Linked DNA regions of Homo sapiens: all the other regions are linked to region 1. The links are contacts of gene promoters, found by promoter capture Hi-C in human tissues and cell types (Jung and others, 2019). All regions are on one chromosome and are shown on one strand. The core of a region is centred on a gene start or on the middle of the fragment in contact, and the rest is flanking DNA. Distances in the headings are between cores, read along the strand shown.

Region 1 (3,067 bases), core at 13-2,512:
CAAACCAGCCCAGAGCCCCCCATGGGTGCCGCTTTGCGGCCCACCCACCCCCACAGCCCACCTCGCACCTCCAAGGAGCCTTCTTTGCCTCTCACTGCACACCGACCCCCCATTTCCTCACCCCCACCCCAGGGGCACAGCAAGAAGGGTGCTGGTGCCAGCCCCCCCGCACTCCATCCGAGAGACACGGGCTCCTCGTCCCTCGTCGTCCGTAGGCCCTGAGCTCCAGGGCAAGCCAGAGCTGAGGCCTTCAGGGGGTCCTGCCAGTGCAGCCTCCGGGAGTCTGCCCAGGGATCCCCTGTGCCGGGGTCTTCCAGGTTCAGCTCAAAAAGCACCTCTTCCACGACTCCCTCCCCGACCTCCCTCCCGGGTCCCCTCTCCCCGTGCTCAGAGGCGCGTCTGAGCGTCGGGAGCTCGGGACGGCGAGCAGCCAGCAGAGCCGGGACCCGGGAGGGCGCACCCCGACCCCATTCCCGGGAAAGAGCGGAAAGAACGCGGACAGGAGCCCGGGGCGGGGAGCTGCCGGCGGGGGCTGTAATTGCGCAGCTGAGGCCAGGGCGGCGCCCCTAGGGGCTGGGCCGCGTCCAGAATGGGACCCCCGAACTCAGCGCCGAGAGCCCCGGACACCCCGCGGGCAGAGGCCGAGGCGGAGGAACCCACTACTCGGCGCGGCCAGGAGGGGCGGCAGGAAGACCCGCCCCGGCCCCCGCCCGCCCTCTCCCCGAGCCCCCGCGCCGGACCCCACTTGTTGCTGCGTGTCGGCTCTGGGCTCGAACTCGCGCGCCCCGCTCGCGTCCGGCTCCAGCCGCTCCCGGTCGGACACCTCCGGCCACGGGACCCTGGCCGCACGCCCCCACAACCCCCAGGCGCAGTACCTGCGCCGCCGCCTCCCGCTCGCGCCGCCCGCTCCCGCCGCGCAGCTGTCAGTCAAGCGGACACGAGAAACGCGAACCGCCGCCGCAGCTTTACGGCCCTGCTCAGACGCCGTAGCGCCGGGATGCACCAAGACGGTGGGCGGGGGTGTGCGGTCTGCTGCTGCCGCGGCCGCGCGGGCCCGGGAGCCCCGGGACGCACAGGCCCAGGAGCCCCGGGACGCACGGGAAGCCCCTATCGCGGCGGAAACTGCGGCCAGCGGTGGCGGGGCCGGTGGAGGGACGGCCGGAACAGCGGAGAACGAGCGGAGCCGATTCTCCCGCAACAGTGGACGCGCCCGGGGCGGGGCCTGGGGGGGTTCTTCGCGTGCGGCCGGGCCGGGCCGGGCAGTCTGGGACGCGCCGCCGCCATGATCATCCCTGTACGCTGCTTCACTTGTGGCAAGATCGTCGGCAACAAGTGGGAGGCTTACCTGGGGCTGCTGCAGGCCGAGTACACCGAGGGGTGAGGCGCGGGCCGGGGCTAGGGGCTGAGTCCGCCGTGGGGCGCGGGCCGGGGCTGGGGGCTGAGTCCGCCCTGGGGTGCGCGCCGGGGCGGGAGGCGCAGCGCTGCCTGAGGCCAGCGCCCCATGAGCAGCTTCAGGCCCGGCTTCTCCAGCCCCGCTCTGTGATCTGCTTTCGGGAGAACCTTATCCCCTGAAGTCTGGGGAAGAGAACGGAGTTGGGCTTCAAACCAGTGGTGTCCTGGGGATTCTAGGTGGCCTGGCGGGTCGCAGGCGTCTTGTCACCCGCAGTAAAGCCCTTGGCCTCCGCCCTATTCCCATCTCTGCCCCCAGGCCCACCCCATGTCCTGCAAACCTCGCTGCAGGACGGGCGGGCGCGGCGGCTGACATCTGTAATCCCAGCAGTTTGGGAGGCCGAGGCGAGAGGCTTGCTTGAGCCCAGGAGGTCGAGACCAGCCTGGACAACCTGGGGAGACCCTGATCTCCAGAAATTTATTTTATTTTATTTTTCTTTTTTGAGACGGAGTCTCGCTCCGTCGCCCAGGTTGGAGTGCAGTGGCGCGATCTCGGCTCACTGCAACCCCCGCCTCCTGGGCTCCAGCAATTCTCCTGTCTCAGCCTCCCGAGTAGCTGGGACTACAGGCGTGTGCCACCACGCCCGGCTAATTTTTGTATTTTCAGTAGAGATGGGATTTCGCCATGTTGGCCAGGCTGGTCTGGAACTCCTGACCTCAGGTGATCCACCCGCCTCGACCTCCCAAAGTGCTGAGGTTACAGGCGTGAGCCACCGCGCCTGGCTCTATCTTTTTAATTCGCCGGACATGGCGGTGCACACCTGTGGTCCCAGCTACTTGGGAGGCTGAGACGAGAAAATCGCTTGAGTCTGGGAGGCAGGTGGAGGTTGCAGTGAGCCAAGATCACGCCACTGCACTCCAGCCTGGAAGAGAGAGTGAAACTCCGTCTCACGCACACACACACACAGAAAAAGAAATGCAGGGTAGACTTGCTGACCACCCTCATCAGGCTTTGTAGGGGAGGCGTCTTTCTCCTGTGCTTGTCCCTTGGTGCTGCTGTCACCACGGTGCCTGAGTCTTGGTGCCCCCGCTGGAGTCTGACCCTCGCCCACTGAGTCTTCGTCACATGTGAAGCCCTGGGCTTGTGTGCGCCAGCCTGCCATCGGCACTTGGTGCAGCTTGCTGGACAAACGAGGAAAGCGAGTGGGCTGCTAGACTGAGTGGCTGGCGGCCTGTCCAGACCCTTTCCCCGGATAGGAACGGCAGGGGCCTCCCATGTGGCCTCCCCTTTCCCAAGCTTCTGTGTCTCTGCACATTGGAGCCATCGGTGTGGGAGTTTTCTGGAGGTCTTGAGGGTGACTGGAGCTAGGTCCCAGGGAAATGAAAGCTTCTAATTGGCTTGGGAAGTGGGAGAGGTGGCTCCGTGGAGAAGCAGTCTCTCTCTGATGGAAGGAAGCAGAGGTGAGGAAAGACCCCACAGCGGCAGAGCAGGGCTTGCTCTGGCTGGGGTGGGGGTGAACCAGCTAAGGGCAGGCCCCTGGAGAGCTACCCTGCCGTGGCCAGTGCTGGATGAGGTGGCTGCACATCAGCACCTTGGTGGTCTTGGTTTTCTAAGCTCCCCGCAATTACTTCGTTTTCATTTCATTTACATTTCTTACATACGTTATACACACACACG
Region 2 (3,067 bases), core at 146-2,645, 630 kb after region 1:
TTTCTGTGCCTAGTTGAACGGCAAGCTCGGCATCTGTTGGTTACAAGATCCAGACTTGGGCCGAGCGGTCCCCAGCCCTCTTCATGTTCCGAAGTGTAGTCTTGAGGCCCTGGTGCCGCACTTCTAGCATGTTGGTCTCCTTTAGTGGGGCTATTTTTAATGAGAGAAAATCTGTTCTTTCCAGCATGAAATACATTTAGTCTCCTCAAAGGGACTGCAGGTGTTGACATGAGTTGGAAAGGGAACCCTGGGATACGTGGCGTCCCCTCTATTGGAACAGTCTGAGGACTGAAGGCATTTGTCCCTGGATTTATTGGAGACGGCCCAGCTCCTCCCTCTGAAGGTGGTCACATTCTGTTGACTCTCCATACTCAGCCTCTCCTCCAGAAACAGATCTGTTCCAGAACATTCCAGCACTTTCTATCTGGCCTCCTTGTCCCCACACTACGCCCCCCCACCCTCGCCAGGGCTTCCTCTAGTGACACTGTTAGAGCTAATCTCTGAGACAGGGAAGGCATTACTCACTTAAAACCCAGGCTGAGTCCTGGCCACCTGCTGGATTGTGACATAGGAGGTGGAATCCACTGAACTGCTACTTCTGCACAGGCTCCTTCTCCTGGGGCTGTACCCAGGCCCAGCCCTGATGGCTCACCCTGTCAGGCACCAGCTGCTCCCTCCTGGGCTCTCACCCACCTGCACATCCTCCTTCCTAGCATCACATTACCTGCGTGTTTCCCCAGACAAAAGCACTTCCCATTCTTGAACCTTGCCTACCCTGGGCTGAGCTGACGGCAATAGATTTAATGACAGTGACTCCCAGGAAGGGGGTCCTGTGACTTTGCGCCTTAATAAGAACAAAAGGTGGAATTGGTGACCTAGGAAAACTGTTGAATTCTAAAAAGAATGAAGTTAGTTTCTAACCCTAGTTAATGTTCCTTTTTTATTTTTTGAGTCTTGCCCTGTCACTCAGGGTGGAGTGCGGTGTTATGATCTCAGCTCACTGCAACTTCCGCCTCCCGGGTTTAAGCGATTCTCCTGGGTAGCTGGGATTACAGGTGTGTCCCACCACACCTAGCACATGGGCATATTTGTAATAGAGACAAGGTTTTGCTATGTTGGCCAGGCTGGTCTCGAACTCCTGGCTTCAAGTGATCCACCCACCTCGGCCTCCCAAAGTGCTGGGATTACAGGCATGAGCCACTGTGCCTGGCCCCTTTATTTGATAATTTACACATACATTTTTGTCCAAAACTCTTCTTTATTTCAAGATGATGTTTCTGTGGCTATGTGTGGTATGTGGTATAAATCTCAATCTATGGTCACACGAGGGGCATTTTCCTTGTTGTAAGTGTAGTCTAAACCAGTAGGAAGGAGGTTTAATTGCCAAAACCAGCGAGAACTCGGGCACTGTGGATACTACAGTGGGCAGCTGAACGAGGACCAAGGAGAATGTCTAAGAGGCCTCCAGCCCTGCGCTCAGTGAAGACAGGACAGGAACAACAGAGCATACATACCTTGGAAGGGTGTGTTCTGATATACTCGTATGGAAAGTTCTGACAGGTTTTCTCCCTGGGAAGTGCAGCACATACCCCAACACACTGGCTCTGCCAGTGTGCCAATCCCAGATGGTGCTTGCTTTGTGTGCACCCACACCCAAACCCCTGCCCTCCCATATGCTCTTCTGTGTGCCCAGGTAGGCCCTGCCCTCAGGCAGCAGCTTCTGAACACATTCCTCTTGGCGCAGACAAAAGAAAGTACTTCGTCTGTGGAATTCGAGGCTGAGCCTGAGTTCTAGCACAAGAAGACCGTTGCAGTCCAGAGATGAGAAACTGGACCAGAGGCAAATCATGAACAGAACGGGAGTCAAGAGAAGGGGTTTCTAAGATGGAGAAGTGGGGGCGGGTGTGGATCCAGTGGGATGTGGCTTCCCCAGGTTGCAACCCCAAGGAAGTCTCTGGAAGCAGCACCAGTCCTGATGGGGGAGCAGAAGAGCTGCCATCCTCAGTCAGGGTCCGAGTCAGGGTCCGAGGAGAGCTGCTGCTCCATAGTCTCGCACATGGCATCCTGCAGGGACGTAAGATGACCCCGGGGACTCATCCCCATTGGCTGGATGACTCTGTTCCTGTTGGGGAAAGGTGCAGTGGGGCTGGGGAAGGGGCCCAGTTGGCCAGGCAGGGGTCCTACTCACCCGTGGCTGCTACCTTCCTCTCTACCAAGTAGGCTGCTCCCATTTACTGGGGAAGCCTGGTTGGACCTTCTGTTAACTGGGCCCAAACCCTAACTGCTGCCTCCTGGCTTTAAGCAGTTTCCTATTTTAAACATCTAAATTGGCCTTAAGCAGGCTCTTAATTTGGACACTGGGCCATCTCCAATAAATCTGGCGACATTAGTCTCTTTTTTTTTTTTGAGACGAAGTCTCACTCTGTTGCCAGGCTGGAGTGCGGTGGCACAATGTCAGCTCACTGCAAGCTCTGCCTCCTGGGTTCAAGTGATTCCCCTGCCTCAACCTCCCGAGCAGCTGGGACTACAGGCGCCCACCACCACGCCCAGCTAACTTTTTTTTTGTATTTTAGCAGAGATGGGGTTTCACCATGTTGGCCAGGATGGTCTCGATCTCCTGACCTTGTGATCTACCTGCCTCAGTCTCCCAAAGTGCTGGGATTATAGGCGTGAGCTACCACGCCCGGCCTTAGACAGTCTCTTAATTTCTCTGGGCCTCAGTTATCATCTGTAAAAGGGGCACAATACTGATCTCAATATACCCATCCCCTGGGGGATTTCCTCCAGGGCAAGTGATTTCAAACGTGAGCAATGCAACCTAATACCAGGATCCTAAGCTCTCCTCTGATCCTACCTCCTGGGGCTCACAAGACAGGATGTGGGTCAGCTCTCCCTTCTCCCAGCTGCAGGCCCCTCCTCCTCATGCCACACACCTGGAGAGCTTGTCAAACATGGTCACCAGCTTCATGGCCTCGTGCTCCTTCTGCTCCTCTGTCATGCCCTCCATAGGGTTAGGCGGCTTCTCCTCCACCCTCCCGGTCACAGGGTTTATGCTGTTTCCCAGTGG
Region 3 (3,067 bases), core at 168-2,667, 540 kb after region 1:
TGCAACCTTTGTCTCTTATCTACCTGCGACCGGGAAGCGCCTCCCCACTTCGAGTCTTCCCTGCCTTGCTTTGCATTGTCCTGCCTTTCCAGACTGAACCAATGTTCATCTTACATATGTTGACTGATGTCTCCTGTGTCCCTAGAATGTATAAAACCAAACTGTGCTCCGACCACCTTGGGTACAGATCCTCAGGAGCTCCAGAGGCTGTCACAGGCACATCCTCAATCTTGGCAAAATAATCTAAATTAACCGAGACCTGTCTCAGATATTTGGGGTTCACAGGCTCAAGCACAGCAGCAAGGAACCCCCCACCCAACCATCCCCTGCAGGTGGCGAGTGTGCGTCCTGGAGGAGGGAGGGCAGCTTGGTCCTGGGCACTCAGGAGTGTGGCCGACTGGGAGACGGGGAAGCTGAGCCTTCTGGCCCGGTGCAGTTGCCACCACTGCTCCGGGGAAGGCTTGGCAGAGGAGGTTGGGAGGGAGGATCCAGGGTCTATTGTTGGCACGTGGGTGGAGGTCCACAGAGCAGGAGTTGCGTGTGTGTGTCCAGAGCTGGGGACCAAGCCAATGTCTTTGGGGGGAAGTCTGGGCTGAAGACATAAATGTGAGTCGTCAGCACACACAGGCATCTACAGCCAGAGACAAGACTGGGGCGGACCTTGAGCCCTAAACAGGACCACTCACCACAGACATTCTGGGATCAGGGAGGGCAGCCGAGGAGGCTGAGGGGAGTGTCCACCACAGGAGCCCACAGGCTCCCTGCATCCCGACACCAGTGTTAACAGCTGTTGCTGGTCCCTGGGGGTTCCCCTGCCGGCTCCTAACAGGCTGCACCCCCTGGCTTTCCCCCCATGTGGTTCTCTCCTTCTCTCTCGCGCCCTCCTCCGACAGCCGCCCTCCCTGTCCCCCTTGCAGGGATGCCTGCGCTCCTAGGGCCTGGCGCTGGTGCTCTGAGAGTGTTAGGGGCAGAGTTGAGTTCTGGGAATGAAGGGGCTGCAGTTTCAGCAGCTCTGGTTCTGAGGAGGGGGCTCCTGTACATCCCTGAATTATGAGGCCCATGGCCCTGAGGCGACACCTCCAACTCTTCTTGGCCTGGACGGAGGGGGCTCTGGCCAGTGGTCTGCCCACTGCCCACTTGGCCAGCAGCCTTTGATGGGGGTGGGGGGATGGGTGGGGGTCTCTGCCACTGCCCGGCCGTAGCCTTCCAAGCGGGGGGCTCCCAGATGGGATGTCTGTCAGGAGGGACCCTGCTGGGTGGTCCAAGGCAGCCTCGGACAGGGGCTCCCTGGGGTGGGGGCTAAGGGGCGGGCCGCACCCTCGGCCCGCAGGCTGTAATTTGTGTTATATATAGCGTTGAGGGGCTGGGCCGGGAGGGCGACAGGGCTATAAGTGAGCGGGTGCCCACCCTCCCAGCACCAGTCTGAGTGTGGAAGAGACGGCGCTGGAACCCATGGACACGGCGTATCCCCGCGAGGACACCCGGGCCCCCACGCCCAGCAAGGCCGGTGCCCACACAGCCCTCACACTGGGGGCCCCGCACCCCCCGCCTCGAGACCACTTGATCTGGTCGGTGTTCAGCACCCTCTACCTGAATCTGTGTTGCCTCGGCTTCCTGGCGCTGGCCTACTCCATCAAGGTGGGCAGGGGCCCTACCGAGGTTGCGGGGGAGGCTCCACTACTCCATCAAGGTGGGGGGAAGGGGGAGGGATGGGGAGCTCCGTGGGGGGTCCTTGCCGTGCTGGGGGCCGCGGGGGGCTCTGCTTGTCCGTGAGGGGCTCTGTGGGCACAGCTATCAGTATGGCCGGGAAAGAGCTCCTCACGAAGGCAAGGCCGGGGGGCCTCTTCTTAACGGGGTCTGGCCCATCCAAGAGCACAGAGGCCATTGGGAGGCACCCACAGAGGTCTCTGCAATCAAGAGGGGGTTCACATGCTGTGGGCTTCTGGAACAGAGGTCCCTTTGACTTCAGCTCCTGGCTGGCAGGGTGGGGGGTGTCTCAGCACCCTGGGGGACCCTCACCCATAGAGAGCTCTGATAGGCTGACACTGGCCTGGGATGGCCCCCGGGTCCATAGCTGGGGCCCCAAGGAGTATCTCCTCAGGCCACACCCCTCCATCCAGATTTTGGGTGCAGTAGGGGCCTTCCAGGTGCCCAGGGTGTGGGTGGGGAAGGGCCCCCAGGCCCCGAGGACACATAGAGATCTGGCCCTGTGGTCTGGTCTCTCTGCAGGCCCGAGATCAGAAGGTGGTTGGTGACCTGGAAGCGGCCCGGCGTTTTGGCTCCAAAGCCAAGTGCTACAACATCCTGGCCGCGATGTGGACGCTGGTGCCGCCACTGCTGCTCCTGGGGCTGGTGGTGACTGGTGCCCTGCACCTGGCCCGGCTGGCCAAGGACTCTGCCGCCTTCTTCAGCACCAAGTTTGATGACGCGGACTATGACTGACAGGCTGGGTCCTGATCTGGGGCACTAGCCCCAGGACACTGACCCCAGGCTGCTGCCCCTGGGGCCCAATACTGACTCCCCGGAGCCTGGCCCTCCTTCTGTGGGGCCTCCATCCCTGCCCCATCCTGATCCTGGGGCCCTCCAGCCCCAACATGGGCACCTAAGGCTGAACCAGTCAGACCCCGGGGTCTTCACCCTAACCCGAGAGTTCCCGGGCCCTAACTCTGCCCCCGATCCTGCCCCTCCCTCCTCACACTCCAGGCCCCTCGGTTCCACGATTAAAAGTGCCTGGTTCCAGAAAGTGCCTCCTGGCCTCTTTCCTGCCTAGCGTGGGGGAAGGAGCTGCCCTAGGGACCACCAAAGCCAAATGCCACAGGGCCAGCCCCCAGAGTCAGTGGCGGGAGCGCCCCCCGCAGCTCAGCAGCCCTGCTTGGCCCCAACTGTCCCCTTCTCTCAGCCACTGGGCGGCCTGTGGCTTACGGGGCGGAGGCCCAGAGTATTTTAGACTAAGTTTGAGAGCCCAGGCCTTTGATCTCTGCTGCTCTGTGGTTTAGCGGCCTGTGCTCCAGAACATCATGGGTGCGTCCCAACCCCACGTGTGTCCACCCCATCTCTCTGTGCGCAT

What was found. Contacts are between HindIII fragments. The study calls those that stand out against the background at their distance.
Region 2: a contact is called between a fragment that was not itself captured here and the fragment with the promoter of POLR2L in region 1, in 1 of the 25 tissues and cell types used here (lymphoblastoid cells).
Region 3: a contact is called between the fragment with the promoter of IFITM5 here and the fragment with the promoter of POLR2L in region 1, in 1 of the 25 tissues and cell types used here (heart left ventricle).

The regions. Positions count from the first base shown.
Region 1 is chr11:840,724-843,790 of GRCh38, reverse strand. It overlaps POLR2L (RNA polymerase II, I and III subunit L), which reads left to right and starts at 1,262. Exons shown (of 2, transcript NM_021128.5): 1 at 1,262-1,377. The coding sequence starts at 1,283. It overlaps TSPAN4 (tetraspanin 4), which reads right to left and starts at 939. Exons shown (of 9, transcript NM_003271.5): 1 at 876-939. RefSeq lists silencers at 267-435, 421-650, 671-760, 871-1,500 and enhancers at 769-1,512, 1,513-2,258, 2,259-3,003. The HindIII fragment of the contact is 28,886 bases long and covers 1-3,067 here.
Region 2 is chr11:213,285-216,351 of GRCh38, reverse strand. RIC8A (RIC8 guanine nucleotide exchange factor A) reads right to left here. Exons shown (of 10, transcript NM_001286134.2): 9 at 2,934-3,053; 10 at 1,239-2,122. The coding sequence ends at 2,002. It overlaps SIRT3 (sirtuin 3), which reads left to right. Exons shown (of 7, transcript NM_012239.6): 7 at 1-1,322. Among named protein-coding and RNA genes, the nearest start is that of MIR6743, 5.5 kb to the right of the region's middle. The HindIII fragment of the contact is 6,100 bases long and covers 1-3,067 here.
Region 3 is chr11:297,876-300,942 of GRCh38, reverse strand. IFITM5 (interferon induced transmembrane protein 5) reads left to right here and starts at 1,417. Exons shown (of 2, transcript NM_001025295.3): 1 at 1,417-1,638; 2 at 2,230-2,743. The coding sequence starts at 1,453. The coding sequence ends at 2,442. RefSeq lists an enhancer at 2,087-2,246. The HindIII fragment of the contact is 20,921 bases long and covers 1-3,067 here.